2 separate regions of the Homo sapiens genome follow, and region 2 is linked to region 1. The links are contacts of gene promoters, found by promoter capture Hi-C in blood cells and fetal thymus (Javierre and others, 2016). All regions are on one chromosome and are shown on one strand. The core of a region is centred on a gene start or on the middle of the fragment in contact, and the rest is flanking DNA. Distances in the headings are between cores, read along the strand shown. Region 1 holds the start of TUFT1 (tuftelin 1). Region 2 overlaps TDRKH (tudor and KH domain containing).

What was found. The method cuts DNA at HindIII sites, captures the fragments that hold promoters and counts their contacts. A CHiCAGO score of 5 or more calls a contact.
Region 2: a fragment that was not itself captured here is called in contact with the fragment with the promoter of TUFT1 in region 1 in 4 of 17 cell types (M1 macrophages, M0 macrophages, erythroblasts and 1 more); the score reaches 9.1 in M1 macrophages.

What each region holds. Positions count from the first base shown.
Region 1 is chr1:151,538,641-151,542,590 of GRCh38, forward strand. It overlaps TUFT1 (tuftelin 1), which reads left to right and starts at 1,669. Exons shown (of 13, transcript NM_020127.3): 1 at 1,669-1,786. The coding sequence starts at 1,727. It overlaps CGN (cingulin), which reads left to right. Exons shown (of 21, transcript NM_020770.3): 21 at 1-52. RefSeq lists enhancers at 414-930, 1,446-1,961, 1,962-2,476. The HindIII fragment of the contact is 3,648 bases long and covers 1,320-3,950 here.
Region 2 is chr1:151,776,047-151,779,996 of GRCh38, forward strand. TDRKH (tudor and KH domain containing) reads right to left here. Exons shown (of 13, transcript NM_001083965.2): 4 at 3,905-3,950; 5 at 3,057-3,196; 6 at 2,639-2,960; 7 at 393-553; 8 at 50-222. It also overlaps the pseudogene LOC100270670. Among named protein-coding and RNA genes, the nearest start is that of OAZ3, 11 kb to the left of the region's middle. The HindIII fragment of the contact is 3,201 bases long and covers 430-3,630 here.

The DNA of each region.
Region 1 (3,950 bases), core at 419-2,918:
AGCCTTGGTTTTATTTTAAATTAAATATTAAAATTACACATTTATATTGAAATCCTTGGTTTGTCTTCTCATTCTTTTTCTTGGCATATTTGGAGGTCCAGATTTTATGAAGTCATATTAACTGTACAGCTTAGGAGCCGAAGCTGGAGTTTTCTTCACCTGACTTTTCAGAGGCCCTTTAGAACAGAGCAGATGGGACCTACGAAACCTGGAGATGTTTATAGCAGCCCCATTCTCTTCTCTCCTGAACAACCTTCTGGGAAGAACAAGGACAGTAAATGCCTTTTTTTTTTTTTTTTTTTTGAGACGGAGTCTCACTCTGTCACCCAGGCTGGAGTGTAATGGCATGATCTCAGCTCACTGCAACCTCTGCCTCCCGGGTTCAAGCGATTCTCCTGCCTCAGCCTCCTGAGTAGCTGGGATTACAGGCGCGTGCCTCCACACCCAGCTAATTTTTGTATTTTTAGTAGAGATGGCGTTTCACTGTGTTGGTCAGGCTGGTCTCAAACTCCTGACCTTGTGATCCGCCCACCTCGGCCTCCCAAAGTGGTGGGATTACAGGCATAAGCCACTGCGCCTGGCCAGCAGTAAATGCCTTTTTGAGGGTTAGAGTAGAACAGACCAGAACTGGGTTTTATTCCCTTGGGTCATAGTGATAACCCCAGCATTCACTTCCCAGGTAGAAAAATCCTCATTCATTCCTAACTGACATAGGACCCAGTCCCTAACTGGGAGGTAGGGACATTTCTGCTGTTCCTGCCCTAGTGTTGCCTTGAAGAGGGAGCTGGCCCTTCACTAGAGCCTATTGCCAGGTATAGGAGTACTATCCCTTCAGGAGTGGGTCAGACCTCCTCCTAAAGTATTCTGTCTGCTGTCTCTGTGGACCACAGCCAAGTGAAGAAGCCATCTGCCAAGAGCAGCTGGGCGGGGACGAAGCTCCAGGGTCCTGCTTGGCCAACCCTCTCTTCTAGGCCCTCAAGATCCCAGCCTAGGCTTGGGGAGAAAATGCAACTGGAAAAGTCAAGGCTCATCCTTTCTCACGAACACAAATTCCTTTTAAGGCAATGTGTCCCGCCTCTCCCAACTATATAAGGGCAGCGTCAGTAAAAGAGCTTCTGCAAAACAAGCCCCACCCAGAGCCTAAGCTGACTGGGCCTCCTGGGCCTCTTGCCAAGGAAGTGCACCTGCCAGACTGGCTTAGGCCAGTCTGAGTGAGCTGGACCTTGGTGCCTGCCTTTCTGCGGTGGAGGAAAGGTTTACTCAGCTCCACAAAGCCTACAGGTGGCTTACGTATAGGGAGAGGAGCATGTATGGAAGGAAGCTTTTGCAGGTTCCAACTCCTCATCCACTAGGAGCAGGCAGGGTGATTCCCTCTGACCAACACTGATCTTGGAAAGATGGAAAGCGACAAGATTAATGAAGAATGTGCAACCACATACTCCAGATAAAGCTGTTCAGTTAAAGCAGCCCCATGTCGCTCCCAAGCCCCACCTTTGTGTAAATCTATGCGAGCACCGATGGGGCATGTCCCAGACCCATTGGCTCCGCCCACCTCACCTCCTCGCCTATCGTTAGTTCTCTGCGAAACCGCGAACTGGGGGCGCGGCCTATCTTCAGCCCCGCCCCTGATGGGCCTATACAAGGGGGCGGTTCCGCGCGCGCCCGCCCAGTTGGAGCCAGACAGCGGGGTGGACAAGTGGCGTGTGTGCTGCGACCCCGAGGGAAGATGAACGGGACGCGGAACTGGTGTACCCTGGTGGACGTGCACCCAGAGGACCAGGCGGCGGTAAGAAAAAGCGCTCTCGCTGTCTTCTCCGTTTTGTATTCCCGGTTTCTAAGTCCGCCCCTTCCGTGCCCCGCGCCGTGTTGGCTGACATCACCTGGTGCCCGGCTCGCGCGGTCAGCCCTGCGCGGCGCTTCTCTCTTTTTATTCTTTTGCCTGCGACGGGCAGTGGGAGTCGCGGGGTGAAGACTCCTTTGAGGCTGGAGGGTTCGGGGCGTCCCTGCCCTTTGGTAGGACACTGCGGCTCCTGCCTGGGACTCGGCGCCGGCGAGCCCGTGCTTGGGCCGCGGGTCTCAGGCGTCTTTTGGGCAGCCACATTGGGTCATAAGAGAATGAGCTCAAGCGACTGGGTCCCTGAGCGCCTTTGGACGTTGTGTCCTGCCGAGGAGGCTTAGGCTTTCCCGTGGGTCGAGGGTCCTGGTGACCTCCGAGGCCCTCCAAAGAATTTCATCATGGTGCTTTGGATGATCAGTAACAAGAAAAATGGTAGAGTAAATTACAGGGCTTGGACTGGAGGGCGGGGGGCAAGTAGGGGACGGTAGGACTCAAACTATTCCGAGATTGGCTAGGGACTCTACCTTTCGCTAAGGGATAGGGCTTTCCGCCCGGGGGTCACCTCTTGTCTTGGATTTCTCCTTCTTCCCCCTTGTAGTTCTCTTGTTTTCCTCCCTCTATCTGCCTGCCGATAGCTTCCTGGGACGGTGTGTTAGTTTTGCTTCCGTCTCCAGCCGCCAGGCCCTGGGATAGTGGAGGAAGGGGATGCAGAACCCGGGCCGAGAAGGGGAGGGAAGTGACCCAAGCGAAGGCTTCTGGACGGGGAGAGGGTTGCGGAGAAAGGGGGCGTTCTCCAGTGCAGGCTGGTCTACCCCTCTCTCCTCTTTCTCTGGCTCCCAGTCCCAGTTCTCCCCACCCTAGCTGACCATATGGTTTTTCCTCTCCAGAGGCTGAGGAGGGTAATTTGTGGCTGAGTGTTTCTAGGCTCTTTTGGGGAACTTAACCCAGATTAGGTGTGTACTATTTCATCAATTTCCAAGCTATTGTGGGTGGGAGTGAAATGAAAACTAAGGTGATGGGGAACTTGTGTATCATCCCCCCTCCCACATCTGACTCCCTTACTCTCTGCCTGCCTCATCCTGCTCTTGAGGTAGAGCTAACCCAACTGCAGCTAGATTATGGCTCTTCTTCAAACTCATTTCAGGTTTAGAATACAGATGGTCATTTAGTTCTTTTCCCAGTCCCCTCTCCATTTCTGCCTGGGCTATGAGTGTTTTTGCCACATTAAAATACAGATGTTGCTATTGGCCAACCCCAGTTGCCCAAACCCCATTCTTCTGTAGCCTGCCACATCCCCAGCTATGAGACTCTGAAGAGATGGAAGAAATCTATCCATTATGTGTCAGCCACAAGTCCTACTCCCTGCTCTTTGTTTTTAAGCGACGAGTGTCTTGCTATGTTGCCGGAGCTGCAGTACAGTGGCTCTTCACGGGTGCAATCATAGCACACCACAGCCTTGAACTCCTGGCCTCAATCCTTCTGCCTCAGCCTCCTGAGTAGCTGGGACTTCAGATGCACACCACCTATAGCTTCTCTTCCATGCTCTTGCTCTCTCTTTTGGAATAGTTGAGGGAAAAGGGTATGAGATAAATAAAGGAGAGGGATGTTTGGGCTGCTTTTTGCTTGCTTGCTATATAGAAAAGAGATCCGGAAAGAAGTCTAAGACCAAGTTGGCACTGGCAGTGTTAATGAATCATTAACCTCTACTATTTTTTTTCTTTCTTCCTTTCTTTTCTTTTCTCTTTTCTTTTCTCTTTTTTTGAGACAGGGCCTTGCTCTGTTGCCCAGGCTGGAGTGCAATGGCATGATCTCAGCTCACTGCAACCTCCACCTCCTGGTTTCAGTAGATCCTCCTACCTCAGTCTCCCCAAGTAGCTGAGACTGTAGGCACATGCCACCACACCTGACTAAAATTTTTTTTTTTTTTTTCTGTTGGTAGAGATGGGATTTCACCATGTTGCCCAGGCTAGTCTCGAACTCCTGGGCTCAAGCAGTCTGCCCACCTTGGCCTCCCAAAGGCTTGGGATTACAGGCATGAGCCACTACATCTGGCCCCTTTTACTCTTTCTTGATGTTTTTGCTCTTTGTCTGGTGGGGCAGAAAAAATTACTAA
Region 2 (3,950 bases), core at 780-3,279, 240 kb after region 1:
TGGCCAGAACTGAGTCAGCAGTTGGGATTGAGCTGACCTCAGCACTGACCTGAGAGCCCTGAGGTCCTTCAGTGGGCAATCTCCATTATCTCCAAAGTCAACAAAATAGAGGTCCAAGTTCCCATTCTCCAAGGTGCCGAGGACCCGGGCTCGATACCAGGAACCATTTGTAGGTAAAGGTGCTGCTACAATGTCTCCTACATGCACAGTCAAGTCTTCAGGCTGTATGTGGGGAGGAGGAGAAAGGCAGAGAGTTACAAAGTGGTAGGCTCATAAACAGAATTGCAGGAGGAAGAAAGAAAAGTAGTTGCTCCACAGGGAAAGGAAGAGTACAATGAAAAAGATATGCCTTCTTTTCATTAAACCCCAGCCCTGTCCCTATGGCAACTCACCACACTATTCTCATAGTGCTGGGTCATCTCATTGACAAGCTTATCCAATTGCAGGCTGCGGGAGCCAACGATCTGGATCCAGAAGTGGTTAGGGTGCTCAGAAGCAGAAACGTAGACTTCTAGGTACTCATCAGCATGAAAACTGAAGTCAGGACTGGGGACTGAACACAGAGATAAGGATGGTGGCCACATCAGACCCATCTCTGGTTGGAATGAAGAGACTAACCAGGGTAGTGAGAGGTACAAATACCAATGGCTGTTACCATTTTAAAATGGCAGGAGAGGCAACTGGATGAATCAAACAAGAATATCCTAAAGAAAGATACTAAGCTATCCTTTGTACCTTTCCATGTAACTGAGTAATAACAGCTTACATTCTTTGTCATGTGCTACATAGTCAAATCGGTCACCAATTATACAGAAGGTAAACCTCCATATGCTAGCTACAGCATGGATCAGTAAAAAGGTATATGGACAGCAATCTTTACATGGACAGTGACGGACATGGACCTGTTCCAGATCCCATTCTACCACTGACTCTTTACATGACCCTGGACAAGTCTGTGAGCTTCTTGGGAATCCAGGTCCTCTTTGCCCACGCCAAAACCTATGTACAGAAGAGAAAGCTCACAGCCTTTTCAATAGTGATGATTTTTAAAAACAGTAATGAAAAAGGCAATATAAAATCTGGCTGAGAATTTTACTTGTTGATAAAGTATGTCTAGGCTGGGCATGGTGGCTCATGCCTGTAATCCCAGCACTTTGGGAGGCCAAGGTGGGTGGATCATTTGAGGCCAGGAGTTCGAGTCCAGCCTGTCCAACATGGTGAAACCCCATCTCTACTAAAAAATACAAAAATCAGTCGGATGTGGTGGTGTGCACCTGTGGTCTCATCTACTCGGGAGGCTGAGGCATGAGAATCACTCGAACCTGGGAGGCGGAGGTTGCAGTGAGCCGAGAATGCACCATTGCACTCCAGCCTGGGAGACAGAGGAAGACTCTGTCTCAAAAAAAAAAGTATGTCTAGAGGAACAATATCATGTAAATCCAATTATTTGATGTATTACTCATTTGTTTCCTGTGTCAGCATTATTTTGCCATTTCCATCAGCTGTTTTATATTTAGAAAAATATTTATGTTTAGTATTAATTCAAGTAAAATATTATTACCAGTAAGGAATATCTGTGATGATAGACATAAGTGTATTCATGAAAAAAGACTTTTTATTGCTTCCTATTTTGGGTAATCTAAGCCAGTATTTCTTTTTAAAAAAATAGTTAATTTTTTTTTTTTTTTTTTGAGACAGGATCTCACTGTCACCCAGGCTGGAGTGCAACGGTGCAATCCCAGCTCACTGTAGCCTCGACTTCCTGGGCTCATGTGATTCTCCCATTTCAGCCTCCCAAGTAGTTGGAACCACAGGTTGCGCCACCATGCCCTAAGCCAGTATTTCTTTTTTTTTTAAACAGAAAACCTAGGTTATTTGTTAAGCCGTTACAAAAACAAAACAATTACCATTTGAAGTACTTTGAGGACTTTATCCCAGACTCATTTGTTCTGTTACAGAAACTAACCTAAAAGGTTGGAAATTAAAGAATATAACCTAAGAGGTTATAACAGAGCGGGCTGGTAAAACATGGCGAAAGGAGCTCTCTCTTTCCCACCCTGTCTATTTATACCTCCAAGCTCCTGTGCATTCTCACCACATAGGTCTGCTAGCTTACATAAAATGCATACAGTGAAGGCAGGAATTATAGGCCTACTCAGAGGGTACCCAGACACAGAAAGTTTGGGGTAAATAATAAACTACAAATATCCTCTTGGTTAATTCATTTTTGTTAATAAAGGTCATGTATCTATCTTTTGCTGGTAACAACTTGTCTCAATATAGTCTGTCTCAAGAAAGAAGTAGTTCAGGTTGGGTTTTGGAAAAGGAAGAAGACTTTCATCAACTTTGCTTCAGAGTGGAAGAGGCACCAAGTTCTCTCCTACAATTAGGAGCAGAATCTTATACCTGCATAAATCATTTTCAGTGATCAACATCTGCACCCTCAAACTGTCCAGCAACTGTTGGTGTGGATTCTACCTCCATCCCATCTTCAAAATATCTTACCGAATCTTCTGTCCTGACCCCAGCCATATTATACTGGCTGCTCAGACTGAGAAGGCATTCCTTCTAATCTCTCCAATATCTAAGCCAGTATTTCTATCTTCAATGATTAATGGGCTCCCTCTTTGTTACATACTTTCAAACATGGGCATCTCTGGGATGGCCTGGGCTTCAGACTTCTGAAAGCTGTCATCACTAGGTTTCTCCCAGGAACCTTCCTTTGACACTACCACAGCCATGTCGCCTCCTCCTTTGGGTGGAGGAGTCACCAGGGGTGCAGTCGGCTCCATGCTAGAACTGGTGTTTTTCCATAATGCTGGCTCTCCAGCTCCACCTGGCTCTGTCATGTCTTCTCTTCTCACACTGATTGGCTGTTTGCGTGGGACCCTGGTTTCTGCAGAATGAGCAATTCTCTTCCGAAGTTCTTCATCTTCTGAAACTTTCTCCAGTATCAAATGCTGTGGAAAACAAGAGAAAGGATGATATTCTGACCTGGGATAGAGTAAAAGGATCTTCTCATGCTCAGGTATAATTCAAGTCTATTAGCTACTTGCCTTGGCTGCTGCCACTTCCTTCTGTGTTCCTGAGATTTTTATAAGTCTTGATAGTAGTAATGTCCCTTCTGATTCTTTGTCACAGGTAATTTTGGCTCCAGATGCCTTACAGATAGAACGAATTGTCTCGCCGCCTCTCCCTACATTAAACAATATATAAAAACCTGCCCTTCCCTCCTGGCCAACCTTAGCTACTGGAGAAATCACTGTTTTGTATATACTAGGAGAAGAGAATCAGTTCTCATTTCTAAAGTGAACAAAATACAAGATGTTGAATGGAAATCAGGAGCTACTGAAATCATTACTGTGAAAAGGAGAATACCATATTCTTTCCTTTTTCCATTTTATTTAAACTCTACACTTTGGCTAACTTCATGTCATTTTCATTTTGACCACTCAGCATGGCCATATCAGGTCACAAGAAGATATGCTACATAGTGTGTCAGAACACCGGATCAAGGACAGGACATTTCTCTGCCTCTAACAGCAGCACTAAGCAATGCTCTAGGGGAAAGCATAAAAGGTACCCTCTAGAGCACTGTCTTGAAAGACTTGAGATAACATGAGCATCCCAAGCTTCCCTTTAAAAATCAATTATAAGGTAAATATAATACATCTACTAGAACCCTTAAAGAATCAATTTGTAAGGTTCAGATCATACAACTTCTTGAGGAAACAGGTTTGGTTTTACCACCAGTTCTACAAACAGTAAACCTCTGGTCTCAATGTCCCTTTTTTTCCCCTCACATGGTGAAGGGGAACTAGGCCAGAAAAAACCCTGGGAAGGTGTGAAAGAGGGGCAAAGGTAAAGAATAAAGGAAACAATAGAGGAAGCCATCCAGTGGTACCTATGATTCTGCCCACAGATCTCTGGGGAACTGAAAGCTGCTCAGA